Linked DNA regions of Homo sapiens: regions 2 and 3 are each linked to region 1. Evidence: promoter capture Hi-C in 16 types of primary human blood cells and fetal thymus (Javierre and others, 2016). All regions are on one chromosome and are shown on one strand. The core of a region is centred on a gene start or on the middle of the fragment in contact, and the rest is flanking DNA. Distances in the headings are between cores, read along the strand shown.

Evidence for each region. The method cuts DNA at HindIII sites, captures the fragments that hold promoters and counts their contacts. A CHiCAGO score of 5 or more calls a contact.
Region 2: a contact is called between a fragment that was not itself captured here and the fragment with the promoter of CDCA7 in region 1, in 1 of 17 cell types (total CD4 T cells). The highest score is 5.7, in total CD4 T cells.
Region 3: a fragment that was not itself captured here is called in contact with the fragment with the promoter of CDCA7 in region 1 in 9 of 17 cell types (total B cells, activated CD4 T cells, total CD4 T cells and 6 more); the score reaches 7.7 in total B cells.

Annotation. Positions count from the first base shown.
Region 1 is chr2:173,353,134-173,356,413 of GRCh38, forward strand. It overlaps CDCA7 (cell division cycle associated 7), which reads left to right and starts at 1,739. Exons shown (of 10, transcript NM_031942.5): 1 at 1,739-1,851. The coding sequence starts at 1,831. RefSeq lists enhancers at 783-1,738, 1,041-1,130 and a silencer at 1,681-1,950. The HindIII fragment of the contact is 4,998 bases long and covers 1-3,280 here.
Region 2 is chr2:174,080,506-174,083,796 of GRCh38, forward strand. OLA1 (Obg like ATPase 1) reads right to left here. Exons shown (of 11, transcript NM_013341.5): 8 at 1,419-1,559; 9 at 647-743. Among named protein-coding and RNA genes, the nearest start is that of LINC01960, 57 kb to the left of the region's middle. RefSeq lists an enhancer at 3,270-3,291. The HindIII fragment of the contact is 217 bases long and covers 1,866-2,082 here.
Region 3 is chr2:174,351,134-174,354,520 of GRCh38, forward strand. CIRSR (corepressor of RBPJ and splicing regulator) reads right to left here. Exons shown (of 10, transcript NM_004882.4): 8 at 486-592. Among named protein-coding and RNA genes, the nearest start is that of SP9, 18 kb to the left of the region's middle. The HindIII fragment of the contact is 2,171 bases long and covers 673-2,843 here.

The sequences.
Region 1 (3,280 bases), core at 489-2,988:
AAGGGGAGCCATGAATAATCCACCCCTTGTTTAGCATACAATCAAGAAATAACCATAAAAATGGGCAACCAGCAGCCCTCGGGCTGCTCTATCTACGGTGTAGCCATTCTTTTATTCCTTTACTTTCTTAATAAACTTGCTTTTTCACTTTACGGACTTGCCCTGAATTCTTTCTTGTGCAAGATCCAAGAACCCTCTCTTGGGGTCTAGATCGGGACCCCTTTCCAGTGACACTTGTTTTAATTTGCATTTTCCTGATTACTAAAAAGACGAATAGACCAGAGATCTTATCCTTAAAAAACACATACACCAAATTATTTTCTTGTGCTCCCAGGAAGACTAAAAATTTCCCTATCAGAACCTTTCACAGGCAAAGTGACTTAATCTTCCCCTGCTTCATGGATCTAGTAATTCCAAATTTTCATATATTTAGCTTTAGTGGCACAAAATTATATTCCCAAATGTTTATTCATTCAACAAATACTTACTGAGGGCCCTGTAATTCCGTAATTTCACCACCCACCGATAGCCTCTCCTCCTGGCACTCACCTTCTAGACCTTGAGCTCTTTGTCCCTTGCACAGTGGCAGAGTGATTACTGGGTAGGTATATTTAAGAAAGGCTGGAAGACTCCTTCCAATCCATTGTCCTCGGGCATTATTTACTTGCTCACAGTTTTTGTATTCAGTACACCAAGAGAGGAACACAGTATGTCCATGCACTCTCTTACTGCAAAGGAATTAATTATTCCCCAGAGAAAAGTTTTGAAATGAGGGGGAAATGCGAATGTTTTCATTTCAAGCGCTTGTTTTAAATGTTAAGAGTATAATTAGTGTCTTCTAAAGAAACTAAATTTACTTTTTCTTGTAGAAGCAAGTTTTGCTCTTCACGCACACAAAAAGCCTCGCTTTATTTCATTTTTTCGTTGTAATGCCAAGTTTGGTTAAAAGGGCAATGAAAAGTTTTCTCGTTCGCACTGACTCAGGGTAGTTCTCAATTCTGAAGACAGAGAAGATCATCAAGCCACAATTGTTCAATCTTTAGTTTCAATCCCCAACAGATAATCGTTAAAGGTTAACTATACTATAGACGTCTTCATCAAGCTGCTGCGGCTTTTCTTCTACTTTGAAAACCACAAGTAAACAAGTCGGCTTCCTGTGCTTTTTGGAAAGAAAGATCAGGATTTAACTCATTTTATTGCTTCAGATAATGGTGTGGTTCCCAGATAAGAGGTGCTACATCCAGGGGCGGTGAACTCGATTATGAAGGGTGGAGTTCGTGCTGGATTCTATGATTTTTTAAATCTTGTAAACCGCACGCAGCAATGAAAGTGCTAAACGCCATGGTGCGTGACCCGCGCCACCCTCACGCTGCTCTCCTTTACCCCCCAGACTCCACTTTTCCTCCGCCACCACGAAAATTCTTGCAAATCAGACAGCTAACCCCGGGGCAATACGAACCATTTTCGCGCCACTCGCTCAGGACCGCGCAGCTGCACAAGGAGAGTGGTCCCCGTAGCCCCTAAAGCCCCCCTTTCTCAAAGGGGATTTTAGGAGTGCCCAAGGCTATCCTTTGAGGTCAGAATATATAGGGGGGTCGTGTTTTTTCCAGGGGGCCACCTAGTCTTGCGCCATGTCTGGCCGTTACCACAGCTTGCAGGACCTGTGTCCCAACGCGGGAAAGACAGCCCGAGCCCCGCCCCTCCGGGCCCGGGTCGGCGCGCCCAGCCTGCCAGCCGCGCTGCTGCTGCTCCTCCTGCTGTGGGACCGCTGACCGCGCGGCTGCTCCGCTCTCCCCGCTCCAAGCGCCGATCTGGGCACCCGCCACCAGCATGGACGCTCGCCGCGTGCCGGTGAGGGCTGGGCGGGCGAACCCGAGGGGCGGGCGCGGTGGGTGCTGGACGCAGGCGGGCGCGGGCCGACCCTCTCCAACTCCGCAGCCTAGCGCTGCCTTAACTGGTGGCCTGCCTAGGCGTTGCCCGCTTGGGCAAGCCCCTGATTTTGTGCACCTGGGATAACTGAGGGCCATGGGGACGTTCCTGCGTGGCGTGCGCACCCGAAGTGCGGGCGGCGTGGAGACTTGAGTCGTTTGCAGGATGGCTAGCAGCGCTGGAAAGCCCTAGGCACGTGCGTCCGCCAAAGGCCGGACAGCGGCCGGGAGCGCTGGCCGGTCCCGATTTTGCCTGCCAGGCAGAGCCAGCCTGCCTGCCCCCTGGGAGGTTGTCCCGCAGCGGCCCAGCCCTTTCCCGCACACAACTCGGAGCCAGTGCGTGGCTCGCCGCGTCTATACCCGCGCTCAGTGGGTGGCCCTTGGGCGCGCACCCCGCCCGGCAAGAGACGCGTCCGCTTCTAACCGCTGAGGGCCAGCGCGTCTGAGGTTTAAGGTCTTGCGAACCGGTCTCCTAGAACTTGGGCTGCGCACGCAGTGTGAAGCGACCGTAGTCCCGGGCGGTGGTTAAGTGCATTTAAAGGGCTTGGTGGGTCAAAGCGTTCGCCGACCATTTGCTCGTTTCCTACTTCCTCCACCCCAACCCCCAACCCCCCACCCCCCACCCCCCAGCCTTACTCTTAGCTGCAGGACGTTGCTCTGAGTGGAACGTTACTTTTTGCTCTAACGGAAGCCAGAACGTAGGGTCGGGCTCCTGGAGAGGGTAGAAGAGTGGGGGTTGGGTGAAACGGAAGACAATGACATGTTTAAAATAAATATCAGGGGTTAGGGACCCTCGCGGGGGTGGGTGCGATGGGGCGTGGTTTCAGAGCTGAGTCGCCGCCCCGGTGGAGCTGGGCATTGGCTTTCCGGATGAAGAAAACCATGTGTAGCTGGTCTTGGAACCTGACATGCCTGAGTTCAAATCTGAGCCACCATGGGACTTGAGTAATCCATTTCGCTTTCCTGAGCCTCAGTTTCCTCATTGGCTAAGTGAGAATAACGATAGCACCTTTGTTGCAAAGAATTAAACCTGACGTGAAAGTGTACTTAACATAGTGCCTGGCACGAAAAACGCCTACTATAAATGGTATTAGTTATTACTTACCTGCCAAAGAAGTTCATCTCCGTCTTGACTATTTGCCTTGCTGCTTTTTTGTGGCTTTTCCTCCAAAGATACGTTTGCCTGGTAAATAACTCTTGGCTTGTGCTGACTTGTTAAAGCTCAGCCTGTATTTCTCGGACAGCTTCCAATAGAATGCCGCCTTTGAGGCTGTCTGGGGCCTCTGACTGCTTGCAGGTAGATTGATGAGTAAAGGGTGGTAATTCCTGCAGTAATGCGATGAACACTGCTG
Region 2 (3,291 bases), core at 724-3,223, 730 kb after region 1:
CCTCTGGGAATAAATTAGTCATTCTCTCTGTTGTATTCAGTATACATCAATTTTTAAAATACATATCACATTTTTAAAGAAGTAAGACTGAACATATAACACTGAAAATAAACATTACTTCTATGAATTCAAATTTAAAAAGGCATGAATTATTACACGTTGAGTTTAGCTTTTTGAGCCCAACTGTGTATCTATGAAGAGCATAATGATGTCATATTGCTTTTATTGCTGAAAATGTAATCCGAGCAAAGCAAAGGAGGAAAGAACCACCCGCAACCCAAACAAACTTAGCGAATACAAAATGAAAAGCAACATCAATTTCACTGCAGACAAACCCAGTCACACAGATTAAGCAAGCACAATACTGGTGCGTCTTATCTCTGACCACAGGAGGAGGGTAGACAGATTCTACAGGATGAAGAAATTCAGACTATGTAATAGGCAGAATCAATTGTTACCTGCCTCAATCAATGCCGCTCCACTTTCACTGTTCAGCAGCTCACAAATAATTAAAGTTATCCTGGACAAAAACCTCATCTGTAATGACTAGCTAACCGCCACCATGACAAACTTCAAAGTCAGTGATATCAATCTGAATTCAATAGTGTGGAACTGGATATAGCTGATGAATAAGTATGAATCTTACCCTGATGGTCCATGCACGCACTTCATCTGGGCCTGCAGTGAAAAAGTATTCTAGTTGGAGTGCTGCAAACCCAGCCTTAATGATCTTTGGCAAAGCACTGAAATCAAATGAAACAAATTCACCCAACACATAAGTTGATTGTGCCAGAAATTGGTATAGAGCTAAAATTATTCATTTCAAGCAGAAAATGTTAAAGATAGTAGTAAATGACCATTCATCTTTCAGAATACACTGGAAGGGTTCAGAAAGCAAGTAACTGTTTTTAAAAACCTCTCTTCTAAAATTGGTTTTAATTGTATTAGCCTGAAGATATTATTTTGAATTGTTTGCTATTTAAAAAAAGAAAAATTATGACTATTTTCATCCAAAATTAATTATTTCCAGGACCTGGCCATAAAAGCAAAATTATTTGATTGAAATCTGATATTTAAACAATATATTACTGTTACTCAGAAAAAATTATGGCAACTGATTCACCCTTTCCCCTCCCCCACTGAACATGACGAAAGAGTTTTGGCGATCATTCCTTCTCAAAAATATACATAACTAATACCTATGTTATAATTAAAACACTGTACGGAGATGACAGATGACAGTTAAAAACTTAATTTAAAATAAATCTTTTCACTCTGTCTCATGGTAAAGAAAGGAGAAGATTCCCTCTTTATAATGGTAATTACTCTGTCATTTATTATTCTATCAGCGCAAGCAATTAAATTACTGCAAGGAAATAGTTGATAATAAAGTGTAGGGAAAATGAATGCTAATTAACCTTTGTGTCATGTTCGCTTCCAGATACTTCTGTCTCTCCTCAGCACTCAATTCTTGCAACTTGAGTTCCAAGGCCCCACTAAAAGGAATGACCAAAGCACCTGGGTCATACTTGTCCACCCACTCTTTAATTTTTATCAACCTGTAGACAAAAAAGGGCACAACATTATCTTGTAGTGCATGCATGACTGTACCACATTCATTATTATCAAGTAGCACATACATATTCATAAGAATTGCACGGTTTTATGATGCCATCTTTTTGTATATAGCTTTCCAAGGTCAAGGCATTAACAGGCAGCAACTGCTTCAGGTATACGCCATAGTATTTTACTGTAACCTAGTTTTACTTTAGCACATTATCTATGGAAACTATTATACAAATATTTAAAAACTTTTTTTAGTTACACTAAAATTGTTCAGCATTAACACCTGTACCCTTGAATAAAGCTTCCATTTTATAATTTTTTGTTTTCCTTACTTTACAAAGTAAATTTTTAAAAGAAGACATAAAGTTCTGTTTGTACAGGAATCATACCTAAAAATACCAGCTAATTCTGAAGAGCCCTTCACAAATAAATAATTTGTTCCAGCCAGATATCTATATGCCTGGTTTAGTTCCTTCATGGACTAACAGAACTCACAGTGGTCACTAGTTTTGAGGAAGCTTTTTCCTAGCCAGAACAAGCACGTGCAGAAATACAGATTTACAAATATGGTTGATCACGTACGCAGCTGTATGAACCTGACTTTTGTGAGAACAAGAATAATAGAACTGCAGAGGAAAGAAATTCCTTTAATCACAAAGGATTTGGAAAGCCAAATCAGTTAGGAAACTGATCCTAGTTGTTACCTGAAAAGACATTATTGAGTCATTTTTTTTCCTTCCAAAGCATGGAGTATTTGGCAAAGTAGTAATTAGAACATAAATGAAATAAGTGTAGTGAATATATTAATTAGGTTCAGAGCCTAACACTTTCCTAGCTTTTTATTACTGGGCAGGTTACTGAACGTTTCTAAGCCTCAGTTTCCTCACTTGTAAAAATAGAGATAATAATAGTACATATTATATTGTAAGGAACCTAGAAAAGCCTGCAAATAGTAAAGAATTAACAGCAGTTACTATTATTAATTTTCCTTCTCAGATAATCATAGCATACATTCCTATGAATCTGGAACTGAGTTTAGTGTGAGACTATACATTCCATTAAAATTTTTATAAAATTATGCTATAGGCTTACATAATTCCACTAGACTGCTATATTTAGACAAAGGTTTTAATAGTTATTATGGCAAAATGCTGTGGCAGAAGTCCTTTAAATAATTAATGTAAATGCCACTTTAGGGGAAAAGAAAAACAAGAACTAAGTCACAAATCCATCAATGGCAGGGGAGCAGAGTTATTAGAAAATTAAGACTATGGCCCATTGAGCAGGATTTAGGATGGGAGAAAGGAATGAAAAACAATCACACAAGAGTTTGTATATGTTTGTTATACAAAGGTAACTACTTATTTAGTATGTTATTTGTGGTTTTCAATCTTCATAATAGTATTTTTTCTTTTGTTCATATCCCAAAAAATGGACCAAGTCCTATGATTTATGTTGCCTTTAACATAAAATTCAAACTAGATGTTTTCTTAACCAAAATTAAGAAGGACAGGTTAAAAAAAAGGTGGGGGGACTGAAATTGGTGCTTCTGTCTCCGTTAACATTATGGTATTCTAAGTTACTTCACAGACTTACACTATTCAAACAAAAGTCTATATTCAAATGTTATCATCAATGGTTTAGTAACTTACTTTCATTATACAAGTTAAAATCAAATATGTAATTTTAAAAAAGCAGATCACATACCAAATAGATTCAATGAAA
Region 3 (3,387 bases), core at 508-3,007, 1.0 Mb after region 1:
AAATATCCACAATTTTAGCTTTTATTATAATTTCAACAGCACATTATCAAATATATAATAATATAGCCCTTCAAACTCAATCATTTTCTGGATCTATGTATAGTTTAATAAAATAAATAAGTTTAAAATATTTTCTACAATTTTTAGGAGTTTTTACATACTTCTAACCATTGGTTCTATTTAATGTCATATCAGGGGTAAGTTAGCAGGAAGGAAAAACCAACAACCTCATCACCAGTTCAGTTAGATATTTTATCCACATAAACTCAGAGGAGCAGTTTCATTTATTAAAATACAGGTTTATAAACAATTTCTCATTTAGATTAAAATAATAAAGCAAAATCAAAACACATTTTGGGCATTTTCTTTGCTCTATCTTACTTTCCTATGGATATATGCATATTGGAAAACATTAAGTAGCAATTCACAAGCAATCACATTTAGATTTATAGACATTTTCAGCTTACTGATAAAAAGATCATTACCTGTGATGGATCATTTGCGGTCAAGTTTCTCCCCAGTACATTTCGTTTCAGTGCAAACCCACTGTTTCTCATCTCCGCTATTAGCTCCGAGGGGTGCATCGATGGCCCTGTTCACAAAAATCACAGTTTGAATGTATCATTTATATCTCTCTACCTTTTTCGGACTCCACAGTAGGAATGCAGTTGAAGCTTTGTTAAGTAAAATCACAGCTAAATCAACTCAATAATCTTCTGCTGAGCAAATAATCAGATATGATTTTCTAAAACAGCAGTCTGGAGATTCAGAATAGAAAATAATTGCATTTTTCTTTACGTGCAAGGGGAGTCTTCTTATGTAACTTTGTCATATTGAAAAAGATACATTTAGATGTTATCTGGTTGGCAGTTTTTAGTATAAAATCAAAGCAAAATATTATAATAAAAAACTACAATTAAACTTTTAGTAGTTATTCTCTCAGTAAGAGTTCATTTAAAAGATGTATTTTTAAAGGTACATGAGGAATTTATCATCCTTATTTCCAATTCAAAATTCCTCATCCTTATTTGTCAAATAACAATACTGAATACATTGCCAAGTGGTTGCTAATCACACACACACACACACACACATACACACACACACACACCTATGGGTAACCACCAAGTACTTTAATTAATCTTGCTTTTATTCCCAGATTTCAAAATTTTTAATTACTAGCTTGGGTTGCTAACAAGCAGTTTTAGGCTGGCTATTGGTATGTATGTTTTATATTTTTTTACACTACACTTCCACTTTTGCAAAATCTCAGACTGAAAAGTGAGCTTTTTGTTTCCCAAATATGAACTAACAATAAATTTTAAAAATTTTCAGCTGGGAGTGGTGACTCATGCGTGTAATCCCAGCATTTTGAGAGGCAGAGGCGGGAGGATCACTTGAGCCCAGGAGGCCAACTTGGCCAACATGGCAAAACCATGTCTCTAAATAAATAAATAATTTTTTTTTAAAGGTTTGCCCCCTGCCCTCAAACATAAGGTTTATGTAAGGTAAGAGAGACTCTTATCTCATTTTGTATATTCCTGTTTCATTTTGTTTTCCCTGCAGATAGCAAACTAATGACAACATTTCATGGCAGCTATTTAAAGTTGCCAGCCTAAATCACCTACACTGGCTTAAATGACGTACTCCAGCTGATGTGTCTGTCACTTAGGGAAGAATGAGACAGTTACTGCCAAAAAGGAGTTCATACGGGAGGGTAGGGGGATAGAAAAATATTCAGAAATGAGTTCTTTAGTTTGCTGGTTGAATACTTTGTCTATTTCTTTTTACTGCTTTGTTGGTCTTTTACCACTTATTTGCGCACTCACCTGCATATTATCATGGAAAGCAAAAGGCAATCAGTTCAAATTTGTTTACCTGTCAATAGCAGATGTGGTTAAAAATTTGGTGAGAAAAACTCAGTTATAAGATAATATATTTTACTGGACTTTCCAGGCTTTACCATTCCATTCATATTGCGAAGAACAACTGTAAGTTTGCCCTAGGTACTAGGGAGATGATGGGGAAAAACTGTCTATTATTGGAGTATGGGGGAAGTTATTAATGATGTCATAGTTTTAGGAAAAAAAGCCTTATTTAGTTAAAAACAAACAAAAACACCTGTCTTATATTAATATTTCATTTTAAACCAAGAGGGTTTTTAATTTTTTTCTTCTATACAAAATGTTTAATTCCTATGTATTACTTTAATGGCCCTTTAATTATTCAGTCTGGTTGTTAACATTGATAATACAATCTTAAATAAAATTGAATTTTAAATATTAATACTGGTTGCCTCTAAATGGCATAGAGGTGCTCATACAATTAAGAGCTTTTTGTGTGTGTGTGTGTGAGATGGAGTCTTGCTCTGTTGCCCAGGCTGGAGTGCAGTGGCACGATCTCGGCTCACTGCAACCTCCGCCACCTGGGTTAAAGCAATTCTCCTGCCTCAGCCTCTGGAGTAGCTGGGATTACAGGCAACTGCCACCATGCCTGGCTAATTTTCGTATTTGTAGTAGAAACGGGGTTTCACCATGTTGGTCAGGCTGGTCTCAAACTCCTGACCTCGTGATCTGCCAGCCTCAGCCTCCTAAAGTGCTGGGATTACAGCCGTGAGCCACCGCGCCCGGCTCAATTAAGAGCTTTAAATGAATAATAGAATGTTTACTTTGGTGGCTTCTCAAATTTCACATGTAGGAACTTAATTTTATAAAGTAGAAAATGTCTCTTCTGAAGTGTCAAAACTACATTTCCTTGTCAACAATTTTATTAGATATCGAATGAATTCAGACACCAAACTTGTTAATAATTAGAATAAAAACCACTCCAATAAAGGGTCACAAAGCTTGGCCATCATGATGAGAGGTTATACTAATTTCATCAGTTTTCATCACAAGATGGGTAATTTTAATAAGATGTTATAGAAAGCATGCCTTCTTTACAGTACTTCCAACTATGTCAAGAAAATGATGTATTTCCCCAGTGTTACAGAGATTATACAGACTATTAAACAATCATTACTCTTCTAGCATTTATATTTTTCAAAAATCCCAACTGAAAACTCTGTGTAGTATATAAATTTAGCACACTTTCACAATGTATGACTGTAAATAGAGTGCTTAGTGAAGTGCTCGACAAATAGTACTTAATAAAGAGTAACAACTATTATTTTTACCAGTACCTATTCAACTTTCTTATATAAGAAATTGTCTTTTTATAAGATATATTATATATGTACATATATTACTTATATATGTACATATATATTTTATATATTATATATAATATATATTATATGATATATATAATATATTATATAATATAATATATAAAATATATATAATATATATTATATTATATAAATTATATTATATATATCATATAATA